2 separate regions of the Homo sapiens genome follow, and region 1 is linked to region 2. Evidence: promoter capture Hi-C in 16 types of primary human blood cells and fetal thymus (Javierre and others, 2016). All regions are on one chromosome and are shown on one strand. Each heading gives the region's core, a stretch centred on a gene start or on the middle of the fragment in contact. The rest is flanking DNA. Distances are from core to core; before and after follow the strand shown.

Evidence for each region. Contacts are between HindIII fragments. The CHiCAGO score rates a contact against its expected background, and 5 or more counts as called.
Region 1: a contact is called between a fragment that was not itself captured here and the fragment with the promoter of EDNRB in region 2, in 1 of 17 cell types (M1 macrophages). The highest score is 6.4, in M1 macrophages.

The regions. Positions count from the first base shown.
Region 1 is chr13:78,079,731-78,086,818 of GRCh38, reverse strand. All of the region lies in intron 1 of OBI1-AS1 (OBI1 antisense RNA 1), which reads right to left. Among named protein-coding and RNA genes, the nearest start is that of OBI1-AS1, 28 kb to the right of the region's middle. The HindIII fragment of the contact is 1,415 bases long and covers 2,106-3,520 here.
Region 2 is chr13:77,915,395-77,922,149 of GRCh38, reverse strand. EDNRB (endothelin receptor type B) reads left to right here and starts at 3,319. Exons shown (of 7, transcript NM_001122659.3): 1 at 3,319-4,059. The coding sequence starts at 3,577. RefSeq lists a cis regulatory region at 2,953-2,962 and promoters at 3,214-3,328, 2,318-3,390. The HindIII fragment of the contact is 2,812 bases long and covers 1,322-4,133 here.

The DNA of each region.
Region 1 (7,088 bases), core at 1,564-4,063, 170 kb before region 2:
TCAAATGGTCATTTTCTTACAGAAAAGAAGACAAGGGTTAGGAAGTCCAGGATTGGTGTGGCAGCTCCATGAAGTCACTAGATGCCCAGACTCCTCTATCTTTCTCCTCTGCCATTTTTGGTGTGTTGTTTCCATACTCAAGATAACCACATGTTCTAGGGTGGATGCTGGAGTTTCAACCATCTCACCCACATTCCAGAGAGCAAAAAGAATAGAAGTCAAAATGAGTTTGTTTCTAAGTGTCTTTTAAAGGGCCTTCTTCAAGTCTCTCACAACACATCTACCCTCACAGGTCTAAATGGTTAGGTACAACAGCCCTGAGCAGCCTTGGAATTGTTATCTTTATTCCAAGTGGCCCTATGGCCAGCTAAAAATTGGCATTCTATTAGTAAGGTGGAAGATAAGGAGTACTGGATTGGCAATTGGTACTCTGTATCATGACTTTGATAAGAACATGTTAACCAAAGATAAAATAAAAGATTGAGAAAAGAAAACACTAGATCCAATTATTTCTTTCTTATATGAGAACACACTAACACACCCTCATGCAAAGAAAAGAGTGTGCTATCTTATAGTCATGGAAAATAGAGAAGTCACGGAGCCTGACATTGACCTTTGTATAAACAAATTATAACACCTGCCCCCCAAAGATGGCATCAGAGATAGAATTTCCTCATGGAATACGATAGTTGACATTCCCACAACATTGACTAAGTGAATTGGGTGACAGTTAGTTTTGGAGTATACTTTTTAAGCAATTACAGAAAAGAAAGTAAAATGAGAGTGAGTCAGCAGGTTTTCAGTGGCCAACTCGGGTGGAATTAAACACAAAAAGGAGAAAACTTCTGCATTCTATTTGCTGTAGTTAATTGTTTTCTCACTCTTAACACTCTTGCCTGTTCAACCTAGGTGTTGCATGCTCTAATAAAATTGAAAAATAAGCTGACACGTTCACCTTAAGGAAAAGGGGAAGGGAGGTGGGAAGGAGAGGGAAAGGAAGGGAAATGATCATTTGCAGGCATTATCATTCAAGGCTTTCAACTAAGCCTCTTCCCTGGGAAGCATCAGAGGTCATTTCAGGGAGCCGCTACAGGGGGAACACACAGGACAGGAAGGTCTGCGTGGAAGTCTCACTTAGCCTACAATCCACCACTTCCATTCTCACCCCCACCTCCCAACCTTTGCGGCCGCCTTGGCCACTGCAAGGAAATAGGGTGTTCTCTACATAAAGGGGTTCTCAAAACTCAGAGATTCTGGCTGACAGTACTGGGCTCATGTCTGAACTCCATGACAGGCTGGCTGTGCAGCTTTTTGGCACAGTTAGTTATACATTTTAAGCCTTGTTCTAATCATCTGTAAAGCAGGGATGTTCATATCTGTAGTACTTGCCTCATGGAGTTGTTCTGAGGAGTAAGAGCTTGGTAGAGTACTTCATAATTAGCTAACACGCAATAAATATTAGCTATTCTGCACTTTGGAGTCAGCTTGGTGTACCATGGAATCTATGTCCTAGCTAAGCAAATTAACCTGCTAGGTCTCAGTTTCCTGAGGATCTGGCACCTTACAGGTTCTCAATAAAAATGTTAAGTGTTTTGTGATAATTATTACATGTATTTTATTTTGAAATATAAAATACATATGTAAAGCAAAATGAAAAATTATCTATATATAATATTTATAAAGCCAAATGCTTTATCTTTCTTCTTGTGTACAGAGAACTACCAATTGCAATAGAATTATTAAAACAGCCTGAGAGCTTTTTAAATTTATATTTTGTCTTTTGATTGTTCTGTTTTCTCTGTATTATCCAAAGAAAGGCAATTGAATTTTTTTCATTATGAGTTCTGAAAGTTTTCTGTTACTTATTATTTAACTGCCAGTGTACTTTATTGCAATATGCCAGTGAACTCACTTGATATACATCCTTCTGGCCTTCATCCCCTCTCAAGTGATGATATAATAAGATATATTATTTAGAGGGCAGATATAGATTTGACTTAGTCATAAACCAGTGTAACATAAGGTTCCTGACTTTTAGATCTGACACAAAATGCTCTCTTTTAGTGGTAGTACAGAATGTTGAAGTAAGGCTGGATATGTAAGCTTACATTTTTATTTCATTAGAGAATGCAAAACTCATTGTATTTAACTGACAGTCTCAAAACTTCTCTGCCAAATCTTAAAGTCTCTAGACTTCTGAATTCCAGAAATGAGTTCACTGACCTAAATATTTGGAAAGGGAGGAAAATGCGTTTTCCCAAAAAGGAAATAAATCTACCAAAGTAAAATTAGGGAGGGAGAGACATTCTCCTTGGAATAAGCATGTTTGGATTTATATACAGTGCATTAGTAGATGATGTATTTTGGTGCATTGTGATAATCAGAAAAGTTACAGTATGTCCAGGACTCTGTACACAATAGTGTTAAGCAGTTGTTTCTAGGAACAAGGTCATTTAGCTAAGTGGTGTTGGCTATTGATACCACTGCTTTTTTTTTCATGTGGGCAAAGCATCAACTGTTTCAAGACCAATGGCACATTTTCATGATAAAGAGCTAGGTATTAGGGAATTGTTTGAATTATTTTGCAGATTAATTGTAAATCCAGAGTTTGATAACTTAGTCAATACCAGGAAAAGTCTACTATATTTAGGATTGGGGTTTCAAGGTAAGACTCTTTTCTACGCATTAAGTCTGAAAACCTGTAGCCACCAAGTGACAGGTGATATCTTCCAGTAGTGCTACTTTCTCACTACTGTTTTAGGTTACCTCGACACAAGAAGATATTGTTCCTATAGCTTCAGCTCCAAAATAATATGTGCTAGAATTACTGGGATGCAAGTAATACTCACATCCCATAGACCTCTTCAACCTCACTATTTAATAGACATTCAGAATATAAGCATTGCAAATGGAACACAGTAACCTGAAACATATCAGCTTTGGTTTTCAAATCTCAATACTATCGCTGATAATGGGTTTTTACCATTCCCTAACCAAGCACTTGCTTCCTTTCCCCAAGAAAGATATTCCGAGTTTATACAAATAAATACTGTGACATTACTGGTATAATAGAATAAACACTAGGTTTGAGTTAAACATGTCAGGTCGAATTCTGCTTTTAGCTATTACAGGATTTGTAACCTTGGGTTAGGCTTTTAGTTTCAGTTCTTTGTTGATTAATACATTTATTCATTGAATGATTAATACATTTATTCATTGAATGATTAATACACTCCAATGACTGCTCTAGGCAGTAAAGAAGATAAGAAACAAATTCTTGCTCCTTTAGAGCTTATAACTCCAAAGAAAGGAAGACAGTTAAGAAATACAACATAAAGTTGTGATAAATTCCACGAGTAAAAATAAGGCATTGAAACATTGGACTTAAACTTTATTTAGACCAAATTGACCTAACAGATATATGCAGAATATTCTATTCAACAGCAACAGAATACACATTCTTCTCAAGTGTACATAAGACATTCTCCAGGATAGGTTATGTTAGGCCACAAAACAAGCTTAACAAATCTAAGAAAGTTGAAATCATATCAATTATCTTTTCCAATCACAAGGGGATAAAACTGAAAATCAGTAACAGGAAGAAATTTGAGAAGTTCACAAATATAAGAAAATAAACAACATGTTCCTAAACAACCAATGAATCAATGAAGAAGTTAGAAGAAAAATGTAAAGTATCTTGAAACAAATGAATATAGAAACATGCTAAAACTTAAGAGATGCAGCAAAAACAGTTCTTAGAGGGAAGTTTATAACAATATATGCCTACATCAAAAAAGAAAAAGATCCAAAATAAAGAGCCTAATGTCACCCTCAAGGAACTAGAAAAACAAGGGCAAACTAAGCCCAAAGTTAGCAGAAGAAAGGAAATAATAAAGACCAGAGCAGAAATAAATTAAATAGACTAGAAAAGCAACAGAAAGAACAACTAACAGGTGATATTTTTGAAAAGATTAAGTCAACAAATCTTTAGTTAGACTACGAAAAAAGATACAAGACTAATAAAATCAGAAATGAAAAAGGAGATATTGCAACTGATATCACAGAGACACAAAGAATCATAAGACTACTATAAACAATTACATGCCAACAAGTTCAATAACCTAGAAGAAATCAATATATTCCTAGATACGTTAAGACCTATGAAGACTGAATCATGAAGAAATAGAAAACCTGAACAGACCAATAAAGATTAAAGAGATTGAATCAGTAAAAAAGAAGCCTCCCACTATAAAAAAAAAAAAAAGCACAGGACCTGAAGCCTTCATGTTTAATTCTACTAAATATTTAAAGAAGAACTAATATCAATTCTTCTCAAATGCCTCCAAAAAATTGAAGAAGTAATACTTCCATCTTCATTTTAAGAGACTAGTATTACCCTGATGCCAAATAGAAACAAATACACTGTAATAAAAGAAAATTACAGGCCAATATCCCTGATGGATATAGATGCAAAAATCCATACCAGAATGGTAACAAACTGAACTCAACTACATACTAAAAGAATTATTTACCATGATCAAGTGGGATTTTTCCAAGGAATTCAAGGATGGTTCAACATACACAAATATATAAATATACCACACTAACAGCATGAAAAACAAAAACCATATGAAAAACAAAAACCATATGATCATCTCAATCGATGCACAGAAATATTTTTTTCTTCTTTTTTTTATTATACTTTAAGTTCTAGGGTACATGTTCACAACATGCAGTTTTGTTACATAGGTATACATGTGTCATGTTGGTTTGCTGTACCCATTAGCTCGTCATTTACATTAGGCATTTCTCCTAATGCTATCTCTCCCCCTGTCCCCCACCCCATGACAGGCTCCAGGGTGTGATGTTCCCCGCCCTGTGTCCAAGTGTTCTCATTGTTCAATTCCCACCTATCAGTGAGAACATGCAGTGTTTGGTTTTCTGTCCTTGTGATAGTTTGCTCAGAATGATGGTTTCCAGCTGCATCCATGTCCCTGCAAAGGACATGAACTCATCCTTTTTTATGGCTGCATAGCATTCCATGGTGTATATGGATACACAGAAATATTTTACAAAATTTAACCTCCTTTAAATTTAAAAAACTCTCAACAAATTAGATATAGAAGAAATGTGCCTTAACACAATAAAGATCATATATGTCAAGCCCACAGCAAATATTATACTCAATGGTGAAAAGCGGAAAGCTTTTCTTCTAAGACCAGAAAAATACAAGATGCCACTCTTGCCACTTCTATTCAATATGGTACTGGAAGTCCTAGCCAGAACAATTAAGGCAAGGGAAAGAAATACAATGCATTTAAATTGGAAAAGAAGAAGTTAAATTGTCTGTTTGCAGACAACATGATCTTATATACAGAAACCTAAGGACTCTACTAAAAAAAAAAACTGTTAGAACTAATAAATGAATTCAGTAGAGTTGTGAGATATATAAAATCAACATACAAAAATCAATAGCATTGCTATACACCAACAATGAACTACCCAAAAAGGAAATAAAGAAAACAATCCCATTTATAATAGCTACAAAAATAAAATAAAATACTTAAGAATACCTTTAACTAATGTTAAATGTGAAAGACCTTACACTGTAAAACACTGATGAAGGGAATTGAAGAAGACACAAATAAATGGAAAGATATACCATGTTCACAAATTAGAAAAATTAATGTTATTAAAATGTGCTACTACCTAAAGTAACCTACACAGTCAATACATTTCCTATCAAAATTTTAAAGACATGTTTCTGAAATAGAAAAGGCCATTCTAAAATTTGTATGAAGTCCCCCAAAAACCTGTAAATAGGCAAATCAATCTCCAGCAAAGAGAACAAAGCTGAAGGTATCACAGTACCTAATGTCAAAATATACTACAAAGCTATAGTAATCAAAACAGCATGGTATTGGTAGAGAAATGAGACCAATAGAACAGAATAGAGATCCCAGAAAGAAATCCATGCCTGTATGCTTGACTAATGTTTGGCAAAGGTGCCAAAAACACATAATGTGGACAGGACAATTTCTTTAATAAATGGAATTAAGAAAACTGGATATCCATTTGCATAAGAATGAAATTGAATCCTTATTTTATATAATATACAGAAATCAAATCAAAATGGATTAGTAACTTAAATGTAATTCAATCCTTATTTTATATAATGTGCAGAAATCAAACCAAAATGGATTAGAGAATTAAATGTAAGTCCTGAAACTACTAGAAGAAAACTACCAGATGAAAATGTAGGAGAATAGCCAAGCACAGTGGTACATGCCTATAATTCTAGCTACTTGGGAGAATGAGGCAGGAGGATCTCTTGAGCCCAGGATTTCAAGGCTGTAGTACATCATGATTGCACCTGTCAATAGCCACTGAACTACTGAAGCCTGGGCATCAGAGAAGGATCATGTCTCTAAAAAAATAAAGAAGAAGAAGAAAAAGAAAGAAAGAAAATATGGGGGGAAAGTCCACGACATTGGTCTGGACAATGATTTTTGGTATATGACTTCAAAAGCACAGTCAGCTAAAGCAAAAATAGACAAATGGAATTACATCGAACAAAAAGCTTCTTCATAGCTGAAAAAAAACAATCCACAGAGTGAAGAGACAACCTATGGAACAGGAGAAAATATTTGCAAACTATACATATGATAAGGGATTAATATCCAAAATATTTAAGAACCTCAAACAACTCAATAGTAATACAACAAATAACCTGATTTTAGAATGGACACAGGAAGGGGAACATCACACACCAGGGACTGTTGTGGGGTGGGGGAGGGGGGAGGGATAGCATTAGGAGATATACCTAATGCTAAATGACGAGTTAATGGGTGCAGCACACCAACATTGCACATGTATACATATGTAACAAACCTGCAAGTTGTGCACATGTACCCTAAAACTTAGAGTATAATAATAATTTTTAAAAAAATAGGAAAAAAAAAGAATGGACAAAGGATCTGAATAGACATTTCTCAAAAGAAGACACACAAATGGCCAACAGGTAAATGAAAAAATGCTTAACATCACTAATCATCAAGGAAATGTAAAGTAAACCACAATGAGATATC
Region 2 (6,755 bases), core at 2,070-4,569:
ACATTTACCTAGCCAAAAAAAAAAAATCCTCTCATAAATGCAAAATTAGTTCACAAGTTTGCAGGTAGGAATTCTTAAAATTTGATACAACTTTTTGCTCATATATAGAAGTGAAATTTACATAGTAGTTAGTTGCTAGTGAATTCATAAATAAAATTTATCGATAACAGATTTTAAGTAATAAGATGAAAAAAAAACTATATCCATAGCAGTACTGCTCAAGGCATGAGTAATGAAAGTAACATTAAAAAAAAATATTGGCCTAGAATCTGTTTCCACTTTTCTGCACTTTAAGACACTCCTACAGAGGCAGTTTGTCAGTCGGACTGATTTATTGGAGCAAGAAGTAACTTTAATCCTTTTCTTCCATTTTACAAAAGGGGAAACTGACACCCAGTCATTCATGAAGATCAATGAACAATTCTTTACATTTCACATGGTTGTCTTTACATGTTAAGGTGAAATATTTAAGGTTAAACTTCAATTGCATATTACTGATGTCTAGAACACTGTTTCCCCAAAATAAGAAAAAAATTTGCTTAGGCTTTCTGCAATTACAATAATAAAAAGCATAGTCTGTGTAACCATTTAGACATGCATTCAAATCCTAGCTCCAAATCCTGGTCCCACAACTAACTAGCCACATGACCTTAAGTGAATTACTGAGACTCAGTTTCACTGCCTATAACATCATAGAAAATAATACAGAGCTGGAAGACAAACATCAGAGAATCAATGAGGTACTGTGAAAAGGTGTCTAATGCAGGTGGTAGACCCTGTAAGGAGTAGCTGATACTGTGTTTTAAATTCCAAATGAGGAATGTGTATATTTACCTTAAAATTGTTTGGCCTTATTCTTGAGCCCAATGACCAGTTAATAAAGTATAACTGAATACTTTAAAATATCATTATCAATTTATAAAAAATATTTCTTAAGCTCATTTTGTGGCAGGTAGTGGGATGGTGCAGAAAGAACATATAACTCATTCAAGTCCCTGTCCTGTAAAAGAAATTAAGTCACACGAAATCAATAGTGACCCATAGATGTCTCTTATGTGATCAAGTGCTTGCTAAGTTGTGGTTAACAGTCCAAAAGTGCTCCAAGAAAAGTAAAGAGATAGACCTCAGTGAGGATTAGAGCAGACTTCCAGGACTCAGTGGAGGAAATTTGAATGGAGATGGAGATGATGAGAAGGCCAGTGGGGAGAGAGAAAAGTCACCCCACAGGAGCCATAGGCATGAACCCAACAAAGCTTGTATAGGAAGGGCAGATCCAACACTGGGTGGAGTCAACTAAGCAAAATATTCATATTCCAAAGCTTCCATATAATTCCTTATTCAGACAACATTGTATATTGTTACTTGGCTCAGCAATTGAATGTTGACCTCGTTCTTACGAGACAGGGAGGATAAGGACTGCAATTCAAAATAGCCAGATTTGGAATTAGCACTCACAACCCTAGACCATATTTCTCATTCCTTTAGCCTTACTCCGTAACCATGTTCCTAACCACATTTCACACTTAAAGTTCACCTTTTTAAATAGAAATTGATTTTCTACTTCCACTGTCCCAGAAAGCATTGCCTAAGAGCCAAAAATCCAAGGTTCTTGTCCCATCTATTCCATTAACTAACATGAAGCAAAAAACGAGCCTCCTGTCTCTGGGTGAAACTGCTACATGGAATGGGTGCTTCTGGGTTTGAAGTTCCACAGATCCAGTAGGGATTTTGCTGATTGGAGGACGGCACAGTACTCTCCAGTGCATCTCCAAGCCTGACTTCCTGACCTCTTTTATACAATCTCTGGGCAAAACTACCAGTCGCTGTTATTTTCCTCTCTGCGGTAAACATGGAGCTCAAGAATGGATAGAAAGACCTTATTGTATTGCTCTACCTGGTAAATAAATATCATGTTGAATTTGCATGGCAGCTTTCTGATTATTTTCATGTCTCCGATAAGCATCAAGTCTGTCATAGGTACAGTATAAAAATGCCTGAGATTGCCTAACACCGATACTGTGGCAGGAAGAGAGGAGAAGAGCTGTACTGGGGAAAATGAGGAGTACTTGTAATCCTCTCTCGGGGCAGTGAGAGGGCCTGGGAAGAAAAGATCGAGCTGTTCCGTGTTGGGGTTAATGTTGGCTTGAAATGAAACTTCAGGGCAAAATGAAGCAGAGCAAAGAGCAGCGCCCACAAACCAACCTTAAATATCACAGCGGCGGAACATTTACCTGAAAGAAAAGTGACACTTGGCATTAAAAGTTCAATTATCACGTTCAGTGCAGAGCCTTGTTCTAGTCTGGAGCTGCCGGGTGTCACATGGTGCGTGATAACTTGCCCTTGATTTGGGTTCATTTGAAGAGCGTAGAACTCTAACAAATAAACAGCCTTTTGGGACCTGTCCCCGGACGAGGACTGCCCCCCTCCCTCGGGCAACTACTACTGATGCTGTCCAGGCATCGCCCAAGGGGAAAGGTTGCAGCGGGGTCGGAAGGCGCGGGAGGAGTCTGGCGGTGATTGATGGGAAGGGATGAATGAATAAAAGTACTTGTCTGATGGCAGCAGAGACCCCGAGCAAACGGTGGAGGCTACACTGTCTGGCATTCTCGCAGCGTTTCGTCAGAGCCGGACCCGCCTGCAGCTCAAGGGAGGCGTGCTCCTCTCCCAGAGCAGGCTGGAACCCAGCTGGGTTCCGCCTCCCGGGAAGGTGGTCTCCATTCGTCGCTCTGCATCTGGTTTGTCAGATCCGAGAGGTAAACATTCGGGCTTGGTGTTGAATTAAAATCATTGATTGAACCTTATTCTGGGGCTTCGGTTTGGCTTACTAGTTTGGGATTTTAAAAAAATAAAAATTAAGCCTATAGAGAGGGCAAATTAAAATTAGGTTGGGTAAAGGAAGGAGCGCGAGTGTTTGAAGCCGTTTGGAGGGAACAGCGGTTTCCAAGTTCCTGCTGACTTGAGAAGTCTCTGCGGGTTTCCGAATCTCCGGCGCACTCCTGGGCGCGCTGCGGGAGCTGTAGCTCAGCCAGCCAGGGAGTAGCGGCTTTCATCCGCCGGGAGGAGTCTTTCGAGTTCAATCGCGGGGTATAGAGGTTCCCCTGCGGGGCAAAATGCAGAGCTTGACACAAGCCCTTGGCCTCTAGGTGCCTTAATTCCGCGGTTCCCACGCACGCTTAACTAAGACGTGTCTGTATTCCTCCCGTTACGTGAAAGAGTTCGGAGCTTTGCCTGGGACCCCCATCATTCCCTCCCTGGCACACCCCTTCCAGAACGCCCCGCCCCACTGCATATTATTTACCCCTCCTGGCCACGCGGGGGAAGAAAAACAGCTGAGAGGGCATCAGGAAGGAGTTTCGACCCGCGCTGGCGAGTCATGAGCGCCAAGTTTCCCACTGGCGCGCAAACTTGAGTTACTTTTGAGCGTGGATACTGGCGAAGAGGCTGCGGGCGGTATTAGCGTTTGCAGCGACTTGGCTCGGGCAGCTGACCCAAGTGTCCTGTCTTCCTTCCTCTGCTTGTCTCTAGGCTCTGAAACTGCGGAGCGGCCACCGGACGCCTTCTGGAGCAGGTAGCAGCATGCAGCCGCCTCCAAGTCTGTGCGGACGCGCCCTGGTTGCGCTGGTTCTTGCCTGCGGCCTGTCGCGGATCTGGGGAGAGGAGAGAGGCTTCCCGCCTGACAGGGCCACTCCGCTTTTGCAAACCGCAGAGATAATGACGCCACCCACTAAGACCTTATGGCCCAAGGGTTCCAACGCCAGTCTGGCGCGGTCGTTGGCACCTGCGGAGGTGCCTAAAGGAGACAGGACGGCAGGATCTCCGCCACGCACCATCTCCCCTCCCCCGTGCCAAGGACCCATCGAGATCAAGGAGACTTTCAAATACATCAACACGGTTGTGTCCTGCCTTGTGTTCGTGCTGGGGATCATCGGGAACTCCACACTTCTGAGAATTATCTACAAGAACAAGTGCATGCGAAACGGTCCCAATATCTTGATCGCCAGCTTGGCTCTGGGAGACCTGCTGCACATCGTCATTGACATCCCTATCAATGTCTACAAGGTAAAGGGCGCCTGCTGAAATCATGGTGGGCTTGAGGAAGGGGGCCTGGTTGGAGACGGGGAGATGAGAAAGCTTGTAGAGGGAGCTTCCCTTTAGCTCCCTCTTAAGGTTCTGCCCCTCCTAAAAGTCAGTAATCTTTGGAACCAAATTCCATTTGGTTCTGTCCACTCATAAAAGTCAGTAACCATTGGAATAAAATTCCATTCAGGTCTTCAGTAGACCTCTGCTAAGCTTAGGACAAGCGTAGTCCCCAGTCTAGCAATGTTAGTATCACTTTGGGAACTTGGTGCACATGAAGATTTTTCTGGCCTCACCCCAGACCTACTGAATCAGAAACTCTGGAGTGGAGCACAGTAATTTGTATTTTAACAAGCCCTTTATGTGATTATGATGAACTGTAAAGTTTGAGAACCACTAGTCCTGAAGGATCTAGTCCCTAAGTGCACCTAATGGGGTACATCCTCTAGTCAAAAGTGTGTGGTCCATGGACAGTCAGCATCAATATTACCTGAGAGTTTGTTAGGAATGCAAGGCTACCTCAGACTTACTAAGTTAGAATCTGCATCTTAAGATCTTCATGTGATTGATATGCCCACTAACTTTGGGAAGGACTGTTTTGGAAGACTTTGAAAGTAGCAGGTACAAAGTAGGTATTTAGGAAATAAATGGCCTGGAAAAAAGAGATCCAGACTGGTGAGTAGGAAAAACACAGTTCACCTGCTGTGACGGACTGTAGCTACTTTGTATTAAATATCTACAGTGGGCCAAGGACTGGGTGAGATGTGTTACTTCCATTATTCCTTCCAGCAGCCCACAAGTAGATATTACAATTAGTTTACAGATGACTGGTAGGATGATCAAAGTAAATGAATTAGAGGTGGAGCTGGGGATCAGACCCAATCTGTCAGGTTCCAAAGTGCAAGCTATATGATGGCACCCCATCAATTATTTCATGGACAAGACCAAGGAGCACTCAAAATCTGTAAGGGTTTCGGTAGTTAACATTATTGTGTGATTACCATGGGCGTCAGTAGAAACACACAAAGAGCCAGGTTGCTCCAGGTTGCTTTGGAACTCCAGACACATCCCAGCACCTCTGGGCCTCAGTTTCCTCAATTCCACAATAAGGCTGCCAGTGCCCACTTACTGAGGCTTTATGGTGTTAAAAAAAAAAAAGCAGTCTAAATAAAACAGTTGGAAAATTTCAAAGACATATGAAAATATTTAAAACTTTCCCAGCAGCAGCAGCAGCAGCAGCAATAGAAAGTTGCACATAAAAACACAATCACAGTGTAAGGAAATGGAATTGTGCTTTGCAGATTTGCCTATAGCTAGCCCTGACTTCAGTACTTCAGTACAAGGGGAAAAAAATGGAATGTAAAGTTGGGAAATGTTGTAGGGAATGCTTTGACCTATTGGCAGGAGTAGTTACCATAAGGCATGCCTGTAAATTTCCCTTCATAAATCTCTAAAAATCCTAACCCAATAGCTATATTTTAAGGGGAATTCCGAACATTTCTGAGGTTTAGCGGTGAGAGTGGATTAGGATATAGTTTTCTCTAAAGGGAATCACCCCCGGAAATGGGGGAATCGATTGAAGAAATCCTAAAATCCTGTATGGCAATTGATTCTGATGAACTGTGAGGATTTACTTGGTAAGAGCTGAAATTGAATCTCTAAATGCAGCCACAACTCCATGAGGGCCAGAAGTGACCCTTTTACTTCTTAAGGCGTCCCACAAACTAAATCTTCCCATTCTAATTTGGCAAAGGAATTTCAATTCAATTCATCAAAACCGAATTGAGAACTTTTCAGTACAAGGTGTTGTGATAAATTTAAAATAAATCTAACAAGATCTCTTCCCAAAGGGAGATTAAAATCTAGTTTTGCTAGGTTGGCACAGGATTTTATGAAAGTTCTGTTTAGGGGGTCAGGAAACCCCACATGTCCAGCCCAGTTAGAAACCTTTCTAAATCAGACAGTAGCTGAAGTGCTGTGTAGAAGGTGGGATTGAGAACATTTTTTTAGTTCTGGTGTGCTGCCTCCAGGACAGATATAAATCAGCTCTTCCAGAACCATCTTATTTCCTCTGTCTGGTTAAATGAGTATTTGTAATAAACTAGAGAATTTCTGACTCCCCAAGAGGTCATACAGTTTCCCTTTCATTTCAAACTCCCATATGATTTCCCTAGGAAGTTACATCCTTTTCCCTGAAGCCATCCAGTCTTAACATGACTGTGTTTTTACTTCTGAAATAAGCCAATGAGTCATTATAAATCTGTCCATCCATTAATCTACATGGGTCACAAACACATTCATCACATTACGTCCCATCACTAAGGTCATCATTATTGAATCCTACCTTGTGGCCTTAGGTTTAGCTTGAGACACAATATCATAATAATGGCTACCAGTTAATGATGCACTAGGCACTTGGTTTATTTCATTAAGTCACTATAACAACCCTGTAGAGGAGGTATCGTTATCATTCCTGCTTTAGATCTAGGCAAACTACTTGTCAGAGAGGTGAAGAAGTAACTTGCCTAATGTCATACCACTACAAAGTAATGAAACTGGGGCTTGAAAGCAGATCATCCAGCCCAAGACCCTGTGGTCCACCCCATCCCACTGCACAAAGCATGCTCAGGCACTGCATGGTCATCTCCAACCTTGAGTATTGTTTTAGGATCTCATTT